Linked DNA regions of Homo sapiens: region 2 is linked to region 1. The links are contacts of gene promoters, found by promoter capture Hi-C in blood cells and fetal thymus (Javierre and others, 2016). All regions are on one chromosome and are shown on one strand. Each heading gives the region's core, a stretch centred on a gene start or on the middle of the fragment in contact. The rest is flanking DNA. Distances are from core to core; before and after follow the strand shown.

What was found. The method cuts DNA at HindIII sites, captures the fragments that hold promoters and counts their contacts. A CHiCAGO score of 5 or more calls a contact.
Region 2: a fragment that was not itself captured here is called in contact with the fragment with the promoter of BORCS7-ASMT in region 1 in 1 of 17 cell types (erythroblasts); the score reaches 5.9 in erythroblasts.

Annotation. Positions count from the first base shown.
Region 1 is chr10:102,851,016-102,856,181 of GRCh38, reverse strand. BORCS7-ASMT (BORCS7-ASMT readthrough (NMD candidate)) reads right to left here and starts at 1,972. Exons shown (of 15, transcript NR_037644.1): 1 at 1,755-1,972. BORCS7 (BLOC-1 related complex subunit 7) reads right to left here and starts at 1,923. Exons shown (of 5, transcript NM_001136200.2): 1 at 1,755-1,923. The coding sequence starts at 1,895. RefSeq lists enhancers at 1-580, 1,588-1,777, 1,377-1,889, 1,848-1,907, 1,890-2,403. The HindIII fragment of the contact is 18,616 bases long and covers 1-5,166 here.
Region 2 is chr10:103,063,160-103,068,325 of GRCh38, reverse strand. The region is part of intron 4 of CNNM2 (cyclin and CBS domain divalent metal cation transport mediator 2); the gene reads right to left. Among named protein-coding and RNA genes, the nearest start is that of NT5C2, 130 kb to the left of the region's middle. The HindIII fragment of the contact is 4,469 bases long and covers 1-4,295 here.

The sequences.
Region 1 (5,166 bases), core at 723-3,222:
GACAAGCCTATGAGTCATAACCACTCATTATGCTGTGGGCAAATGTCAGTGTGTTTCTCCTCACAGGCTCTCTCCCCAGAGACCCCTTCCCTGATCATCTGTTTAAGATTAACCCTTTCGACCGGGTGTGGTGGCTCATGCCTGTAATCCCAGCACTTTAGGGGGCCAAAGCGGGAAGGATCACTTGAGGTCAGGAGTTTGAGACCAGCCTGGCCAACATGGTGAAACCCCATCTCTACTAAAAACACAAAAATTAGCTGGGTGTGGTGGCAGGCGCCTATAATCCCAGCTACTCAGGAGGCTGAGGCAGGAGAATCGCTTGAACCCAGGAGGCAGAGGTTGCAGTGAGCCCGAGATCGGGCCACTGCACTTTAGCCTGGGTGACAGAGCTAGTGGGACTCCTCCTCTGTCTCAAAACAAACAAACAAACAAAGATTAACCCTTTCATCACTCTCTATTCCCAGATTAATTTTGCTTCACAGGATTTACCACCACCTGATTTTTTTCTGTTTCACTTGTTTATCGTCTGTCTCTTCACTAAAATGTAAACTTCCCAAGTAGAGGGATTTAGTTTTGTTTATTCCGTGTACCTAGAGCAGTTCCTGGCACATAGCAGACACCCAATAAGTATTTGTTAAATGAATACTGTGGAATGAGTTTTTTACACATGAAATTCTCAGCTAATCAAACAAAATAGCTATGTGGAGACTGCTCAAGAAGCAATGCTGCCAGGAGCGGTGGCTCACGCCTGTAATCCCAGCACTTTGGAAGGCTGATGCAGGCAGATCATGAGGTCAAGAGTTCGAGACCAGCCTGGCCAACATGGTGAAACCTCATCTCTACTAAGAATACAAAAATAGCCAGGTGTGGTGGTGCGTGCCTGTAATCCCAGCTACTCAGGAGGCTGAGGCGGGAGAATCACTTGAACCCAGGAGGCGGAAGTTGCAGTGAGCCAAGATCACACCACTACACTCCAGCCTGGCGACAGAGCTAGACTCCGTCTCAAAAAAAAAAAAAAAAAAGGAAAAGTACTTCCTTCAATTAGTCATTCTAAAGACTTCATGAATTAAACTCCATAAAAGACAACAGTGTCTAGCATATATAAAATGCTAAATAAATGTACGTTTATTATGATGAATATGTTGAATATTTACAGGTGGTTAACTATAAACACCTCTAGTTGAAAATATATATAATATATATTACATATATTATATATAATATATATGTATATTATATATGTAATATATACATACACATTATATATAATATATACGTATATATATTATATAATACGTAATATATAATACTTATATATATAATTCGCCTCCCAGGTTCAAGCAATTCTCCTGCCTCAGCCTCCCAAGTAACTGGGATTACAGGCATGTGCCACCACGCTCGGCTATATATTTTTTTAATTATTATTTTTTAGTAGAGACGGGGGTTTCTCCATGATTGTCAGGCTAGTTTCGAACTCCCGACCTCAGGTGATCCGCCCGCCTCGGCCTCCCAAAGAGCTGTTTTAAAGCACAGGTTCCCATGGCATCGCTTCTTCCCCCAACCCTCACACACTGTCCCTAACCAAAGAGACTGCACACCCCAGAATGCAACACGCGCCTCCGCGAAGAAGACCTACTCATAGCAAGTACTTCACAGCCTACAATTCCCAAGATGCAACGCGACCTCCTTCCCACAGCAACGAAAGACTGCGACTCCCCGGACTATCAGGCCGGGAGAGTCCACTTCCAGCTCACCTCGGAGCTCCGGGAGCCTTTCAGCACCTGCTTGGTGAGCGCGATTACGTCAGTACCACAGGTGGTCACCTTCTCCGTGAGAAGCCCCTTCACGGACTGACCGAACCGCGCTTGAGACTCTGGCGTTCCAGTCGCCATCATTTCAGTTAGCGAACGGTTGCGCACTGACGATGGTGAGTCGCCGGGGCCAAAAGACAAGCAAAGCGGAAGGAAAAGAGGCGTCTCTTCCTCCATGGGAAAAGGAAGGGACGCATGCGCCTGATGGAGGTTGACCTTTGCTCACTAAACTCATGAACTATTCATTGATATCCTGAGGAAAACAGGGTCCAGGCAAACATCTCTGGAGGGGATGGAGGACAGTTTCATTGACTCTATGGTTCAGAATCGGAAAGCCTGCGGCAGGGCATGGCGGCGCACGCCTGAAATCCCAGCCCTTTGGGAGACCCAGGCAGGAGGATCACCTGAGCCTGAGAGTTCCAGACCACCCTGGGCAACATAGCGAAACTCCATCTCTTTAAAAATAAAATAAAATTAAAATTAATACAAATAATTAAAAAGAATCAGAAGGCCCGGATTACAGTCCCAATGCTACCATTTAGCAGTGTGTGGCTGCAAATTACTCAGCTTCTGTCTTATATTCCTCATCTGTTAAACAGAAGTAATAATGTTTCCAAGGGGTTATGAGAATATCATTCCATTCATATATATATACACATATATATATATACACATATATATACACATATATACACATATATACATATATATACATATATATACACATATATATATACATATATATTTTTTTTTCCCCAGAGTCTTGTTCTGTTGCCTAGGCCTTTTTTTGATTAATTGAGACAAGGGGCCAGGCGTGGTGGCTCACGCCTGTAATCCCAACACTTTGAAAGGCCAAGGTGGATCACTTGAGGTCAGGAGTTCAAGGCCAACCTATCCATATGGTGACACACCTGTAGTCCCAGCACTTTGGGAGGCCGAGGCAGAAGGGTCACTCAAGGCCAGGAGTTCAGTATCAGCAGCCTGGGCAACATAGCGATAACTTGTCTCATTTTATTTAATTTTATTTTATTTTATTTTTTTTTTGAGATGGAGTCTCGCTTTGTTGCCCAGGCTGGAGTGCAGTGGCTCGATCTCAGCTCACTGCAACATCCGCCTCCTGAGTTCAAGTGATTCTCCTGCCTCAGCCTCCCAAGTAGCTGGGATTACAGGTGCTTGCCACCAGGCCCGGCTAATTTTTGTATTTTTAGTAGAGATAGGGTTTCACCATGTTGGCCAGGCTGGTCTCAAATTCCTGACATCTAATGATCCACCAGCCTTGGCCTTCCAAAATGGTGGGATTACAGGCGTGAGCCACTGCACCTGGCCTCATTCCATTCAATTTTAACAAACATTTCATGAACTAAATACCAGACACTGTACTAGGCTGGGGATAGAGAAAGAAATGAAATACAGTTCTTGTCTCTGTGGAACTCCCAGGCTGATGAGGCAGATAGGCCTGTAAACAAATGAAGAAGGAAAAACAATCTAATAGAAAAATTGGCAAAAGGCACAAGTAGGCAATTCAAAAAAAAAAATCAACTGGCTGATAAATGTGAAAAATGCTCAACATCACTAGTAATTTTTATTGATAACCTCTTTATTGTATTAATACCAAACTGATGGTAACCACCTTGTAAGTGAATTAATATGTAAAATATTTCAAGTAGGCCAGGTGCCGTGGCTCACGCCTGTAATCCCAGCACTTTGGGAAGTTGAGGCGGGAGGATCACCTGAGGTCAGGAGTTCGAGACCAGCCTGCCCAACATGGTGGAACCCCGTCTCTACTAAAAATACAAAAATTAGCCGGGCGTGGTGGTGGGCACCTGTAGTCCCAGCTACTCTGGAGGCTGAGGCAGGAGAATTTCTTGAACCCGGGAGGCAGAGGTTGCAGTGAGCCGAGATCATGCCACTGTATTCCAGCCTAGGCGACAGAGTGAGACTCTGTCTCAAAAAAAAAATAAAATATTTCAAGTAGCTCCATTTCTTTTTTAGTTAATAAAAGATGTGAGAATGTTATTGTATTGAAAATTTTGTTCAAAATTACCTGTATTCAATATCAACATTACTTCCTCTTCCAAGTGTCTAGATTCATATGTCTCCGTTGAATCTCATTTACTGTTTACTTTTTGTCCTTAATAAACTTTATTGAGTTTATGTGCATGAATTTATGTTATAATTTATGTACAATAACAACATTATTTTTTGAGATGGAGTCTTGCTTTGTCACCCAGGCTGGAGTGCAGTGGCACGATCTTGGCTCACTGCAACCTTTGCCTCCCTGGTTCAAGCGATTCTCCTGCCTCAGCCTCCCGAGTAGCTGGGATTACAGGTGCCCACTATCACGCCTGGCTAATTTTTGTATTTTTAGTAGAGATGGGTTTCACCATGTTGGCTAGGCTGGTCTTGAACTCCTGACCTCAGGTGATCCACCTGCCTTGGCCTCCCAAAGTGCTGGGATTACAGGCGTTGAGCCACCACGCCCGGCCTGCACAATAACCACATTCTTTAAAGTGTACGATTTGATGAGTGTGACAGACGTATACATCTGTGAACCACCACCACTATTAAGATACAGAACAGGGTGGGAGCAGTAGCTCATGCCTGTATTCCCAGCACTTTGGGAGGCCGAGGCAGAAAGATTGCTTGAGGCCAGGAGTTCAATATCAGCAGCCTGGGCAACATAGCGATAACTTGTCTCATTTTATTTATTTATTTTTATTATTTATTTACTTTATTTTGAGACGGAGTCTTGCCCTGTCACCCAGGCTGGAGTACACGGGTGTGATCTTGGCTCACTGCAACCTCCGCCTCCCGGGTTCAAGCGATTCTCCTGCCTCAGCCTCCCAAGTAGCTGGGACTACAGGTACGCACCATCGCGCCCGGCTAATTTTTGTATTTTTAGTAGAGGTGGGGTTTCACCATGTTGGCCAGGCTGGTCTTGAACTCCTGACCTCATGATCGGCCCACCTTGGCCTCCCAAAGTGCTGGGATTACAGACATGAGCCACCACGCCCGGCCCCTTGTCTCAATTAAAAAAAAAAAAAAAAAGATGCAAAACATTTCATCACCCTCAGAAGTTTCCAAGTGCCCTTTAAAGTCCATCTCTCCTTCTCTGTCTCACCCGGGCAACCACTGCCCTGCTTTTGGGAACTATAGATTAATTTGCATTTCTAGAATGGCAAATAAATAGCATCATACAGGCTTTTTTGAGGGGAGGGGGGTCTTTTTTTGTCTGGCTTCATTCTTGCAGCATGATGATTTGACATGTTGTTGTGCATATAACTAGCCTGTTCATTTTTATTGCTGAGAAATATTCCACTGCATGGATAGTTCTCACTGTGTTTATTCACTCTCT
Region 2 (5,166 bases), core at 812-3,311, 210 kb before region 1:
CTAGGCTGGTTTTGAACTCTTGAGCTCAAATAATCCTGTCTCACTGTCTTGGCCTCCCAAAGTGCTCCCAAAGGGATTACAGGCGTGAATCACTGTGCCTGGCCTGTGATGTTTACTTTCTGTGAGTCCACTTAGTATCTTCCCAATATCTGTAGTTCTTGGATTCTTCAGGAGGCCTCCAGCAATGGAAAGGTGGTGCTCTTGCTCCATCAGTGGGACCAGCACCAAGATGATGCTGGGCGATGGCTGCCTAGGCTGTCCAAGGAGCCAGGGCCGGGGCTGAATCAGGGTCAAGGGCCGACATGGTTTGTGGCCATGGAACAGAGAGGAATAACCTGGGTAGAACCCACTCTGTCTCACGAGCACGGTGTCCTGACCACTGAGCAGACCCCTCGCAGGCTGGTAACTTGCTGTCTACACTCCTGGAGGCACTTAAATTCCATGGGATTTTTCTCCTGTCTTGGAAAAGCAGTTTGAAGAAAGTCTCCTTCCATTAAAATAAAGTTCCCCTCTCCTCCCCCTAAGATTTTCCCTTTTCTTCACTTTCGCTAACTTGTCGACAACTTCTTCTTTACCTTGATGAGTTCTTTTGGGATAGAGTGTCTTATTCATCCCTGGAACCCCAGGGTCCACTATAATCCCTGCATGGTAGGTGCTCATTGTGTTTTCTGGGCTACTGAAATGCTCTAAGTCAGTTTCACTTCTAGTTTCTCAGGCCAAGGGTCAGAAATGCTCTTGTTCCCATTACTACAACTGTGTGAGGCATCCTTTACAATGGGTGAACAAAAATTAAGATGCCATGTATTGAAAAGGAATTGTGCTAACACATCAGTGTTTTATGAATTCATTTAATGTGCACAACTCGATGCAGCAGACAAATCATTGCCCTCCTACAAATCAGGGGAGGGGGGATCAGCAAGATTTAGTAAAGAACAAGCTCTTCATCAGGATGCTAGGAGGCTGGGAGCAGTGGCTCATACCTGTAACCTCAGCACTTTGGGAGACCGAGGCAGGCAAATTGCTTGAGCCCAGGAGTTCAAGATCAGCCTGGGCAACACAGCAAGACCCCATCTCTACAAAAATTAGCCAGGCATGGTGGCGTGCACCTGTAGTCTCAGCTACTTGGGAGGATTACTTGAACCTGTGAGGCAGTGAGCCATGATCACGCCACTGCACTCCAGCCCAGGCCACAGAATGAGACCCTGTCTCAAAGAAAAAAAAAAAAAAAAGATGCTATGCCACCTGATGCAAACTATCATTTTATATTAAGTTTCCAATTACAAAAGGTCTTTCTTGGGCCATAGCTTCAGGAGAAGAACTACTGCCTCTCAGGTTTTCCTGCTCAACAGAAATGACAGTTCACCAGTCCCTAGCCAATTATCTTGCCGTATAAACTTACAACTCCACCCATGATATAAAATCCACCTGCAAATGGGCAGGTGCTACAAACCTTCCCCACACAGGCAGGGCCCTAGAGATGACACTGTGGAGTCGGAGATGACAGCCGTCATCCCCCACGGGCTGACCATGCAGCAGGGACAGGCGAGCACATGAGAAGCAACAGCCCACATGGCACACAAGAGCTCAGCATGAGGAAAAAGACATTGGGAACAGAAGCTCCCAGAAAAATCTTACTTCTTGTTCTTATATAAAGACAAATCGCATACAGGAAGGAAAAGCTGTGGATGACCAAGAGAAAGGGACAGCATGAGGGAGGCCCAGGGTGGCGGCAGCGGCCGGCCAGGCTCTGTGTTTGCAGGGAGGAGTGAGGGCACATCTGGAAGGCAGCTGGGTGAGCAGATCCCCAGGCAATGGGCTGGCAGGGTTGGGTCCTGGGTGGAGGAACAGAGTCTGCTTCCACGAGGGTGGCAGCCACAGGCCTGGGGAGGGAGTGCGGTAGAGAAGCTATTGATAAGGGACCAGCATGATTCGAAGAAGCCATCAGGGAGACAGGAGTATAGGAACCAGAGGCCCATTGGGAGGGGCTGAGGAACAGGGACACCACGAGTGGGAGAAAGAAGGTCTGGAGAGAGGTCAGGGCTGGAGATGGGGACCTGAGACAGGAAAAGGACCGAAGCTCAGCCCGTGACTGAGAGCAGCAGGGAAAACTGAAACCATAACAGGACCATGGCAGAGCCTGAAAAGGGAGGCCCAGACCACGGCACCATGGCAGAAGAGCAGGGGTCAGGAGAATTCCAGGGGCAAGGACGGTCAGGGCCTCAAGGTGCTCAAGGCCGCCGGGAGCAATCACTGACCACAGGCCGCTGGGGGCTGCAGGAGGCTTTCCTACCCTACAGAGGAATCAGTGGGAGGACAGTGGCCCCGGCAGGAGAGGGACAGGCAGCAGGACATCCCCATCTGTGGGGCCATGGGAAGGCTGTTGAAAATTCAGGACTCTGGGTGCTGGGGAAGTCCCTGAAGTAGGGTCCCTTCAAAGAGGAGGGGAGGAACAAGGTTCAGAGATAGCAACACACACAGGAGTAGCCACGGTACATGTCTCCCCAATTCCGTGTCCATCTCTTCCTGAACTGACATGTATGTGCTGGCTGCAAATGTCTGCTTTGTAGTTTGTAACCTCAAGAGTGGCTGCGTGACCAGCTCTGAGCCTGACCCTCCATGCAGGAAATCAGGAGGAAGAGTCAAATGCAGTGGAGCCTCATGGTGACTTCCGTTCCTGGGTGTCTCCAGTTATCTGGAGCATTTGTTGTACAAGTTACAGGGCCTTTTGTGTTGTGTCCCTGCAGACAGATGCCAGGTCACTATTCTTTGGAGATAAAACTGTCAGGACTAGTAGGGCAGGCACAACCAAAACAAGACTGTAAAACAGAAAACTGTACATCTTTTTTTCTATTTAATCCATAGGTTCACACCATCTGTCTCTTGGAAGCGTGCGGTGGTTCCACTCTGAGGCCTGAAGCTCTGCCTTGCACACTCAAAGCAGAGATTCCCAGATTACCGACTCTGGCTCCGGCCCTCGGGCATTCTCATTTAACAATATAGGTGAATCTGGGCATCAGGATTTTATTTAAAAAGATTTCCGGGTGATTCTAGCAAGCCACAAACTTTGGGAATCATTGCTTTAAGGCTCTGTCTGTGAACAATGGCCCCAGCCCTGGAAACTGTGTGCCCTGGCCTCTCAAGGGACTCCCTCAAAGGCAGTGTAGCTGAGTCAACTGATTAAGCAAGGGCGGCTGCAAGACTCAAAACTCCAGACCACTGCCATTCCAGCTGATGCTTCCTCTGTCCTTCCAGACAGGATCCCAGGCAGGGGAGGATCTGCCATCTTCCCTCTGGACTCCATCTAGTTGAGATTCACTGCTGCGGGGTGGATATGCTAAGCTCAGTGATTCCTAGACATTTCCATCCTAACGGCCAGTAAGACGCACCTCTACAGAGACAGATACAGGGAAAGATACGGGGTTGCCAAATTTTTTTTTCATAAAGATGGTTTTAAAATTTATTTTTTCAGACAGGGTCTTACTCTGTCACCCAGGCTGGAGTGCAGTGGTGCAATCATGGCTCACCGCACCGGTGGTGAGAATCCTGCAGCCTTGAACTCCTGAGCTCAAGCAACACTTGTAACTCAGCCTCCTGAGTAGCTGGCACTACAGGTGTGCACCACCATGCCCAGCTAATTTTTCTATTTTTTTATAGAGACGGGGTCTCACTATGTTTCCCAGGCTGGTCTTGAACTCCTGGCTGATCCTCCCTCCTCAGTCTCCCAAAGTGTTGGGATTACAGGCATGAGCCACCGTGCCAGGGCAAAATAAAGGTATTTATTTTAAAAAACACAACTATTGCCAGGCACAGTAGCTCACACCTGTAATCCCAGTTACTGGGGAGGCTGAGGCAGGAGGATTGCTTGAGGTCAGGAGCTCAAGACTAGCCTGGGCGAAATAGTGAGGCACTGTCTCAAAACAAAACAAAACAAAAAAAACAGCTATCTACTGTTACCATCATTTCATAAAAGACCAGACATTTAACCCCTCAAATTTAGAAAATATGTCATTTCAGAGTAATAGGTCTTCAAACTGAATACACATAGCTTTATGAAAAGCTCATCGCAACTGTCTTTATTTTCTCATTCTGCCTCAAACTGGCAAAAACTTTGTTAAAATATCTCAGCACTTAGGAAGAGTTATCACATTAGAGTAATTTTACTTCATATAAAGTTGCAACAGATTAAAGGGTACCTGCAGTTCTTTCAGTTCTATAATAGCATTCTATGACTCTACAATTCCAAGAGTTGTCAAACCTGCCCACCCCACTACATCCCTCTCTATAGGATTTAAGCTTTTCTGGCAGGCAAGTTTTAAAAACATCCAGTAAACGTATCTTATTCATTTACGTGTTAGTGGTTCCAAAAAACATTCATTTTCAAATAACCTACCAGTATACAAAAATTAGGGCACAGGAGGAGATGGCTTACCTGGTTCGAGATTAATTAGGTGTCCTTTCAGATAACAACTTTTTCCATATAAGGAAGCTACATATTGATTTTACTTTTGAAACATCTGTAAGTTTACTCTAGTCGAGCATATCACCAAAAAAACCAGGACAGGACATGATGAATTCCAAGAATTCCCAGAGGGAAGTAGGGCTTCATGCTTATAAACTGACGAACTTGGAAGAAGGACTCACTGGACCAGCAAAGTTGGCTTCCTGAGTAAAGCATCTCTCACAGCATCCTGCCCTTCTTTGGACAAAGGTATCAGATAACCTCTTCTCAAAGTTTCTAAGTGTCCACAACCTACTCAACAGCCCGTGCCATGTCTGGCTTCAAAGTGGAATCCTAAACTTCCCTAGCCAGCGTGGGCACAACCACACTGGTGCAAACAGTGCCAACCCGGGATCAGTGCATGCGGCTCAAGGCGGGACTTCCCCATGCGCCACATGCTGAGCAGCCACCTGGTCTCCCGCTCACCTTCTTGTTTTTTAAATCGCCATCACAAAGTATTCAGGGGGGCCTGACTCCTGAAAGCAGGTGATGAGATGCCAGGGGCACAAAGACTGGGTTGTATTAACCGAGAGAGGAGTTGCAGCACCCAAAGATGCCCACTCAAAGCCTGGGGAGACCTGGTGCCCCGACACTCTCTAGCAATGCTTTCAATCTGGAGTCTGCAATGGAATGGCCAGACTCAGCAAGTTTGCTAAATTTACTTTTCT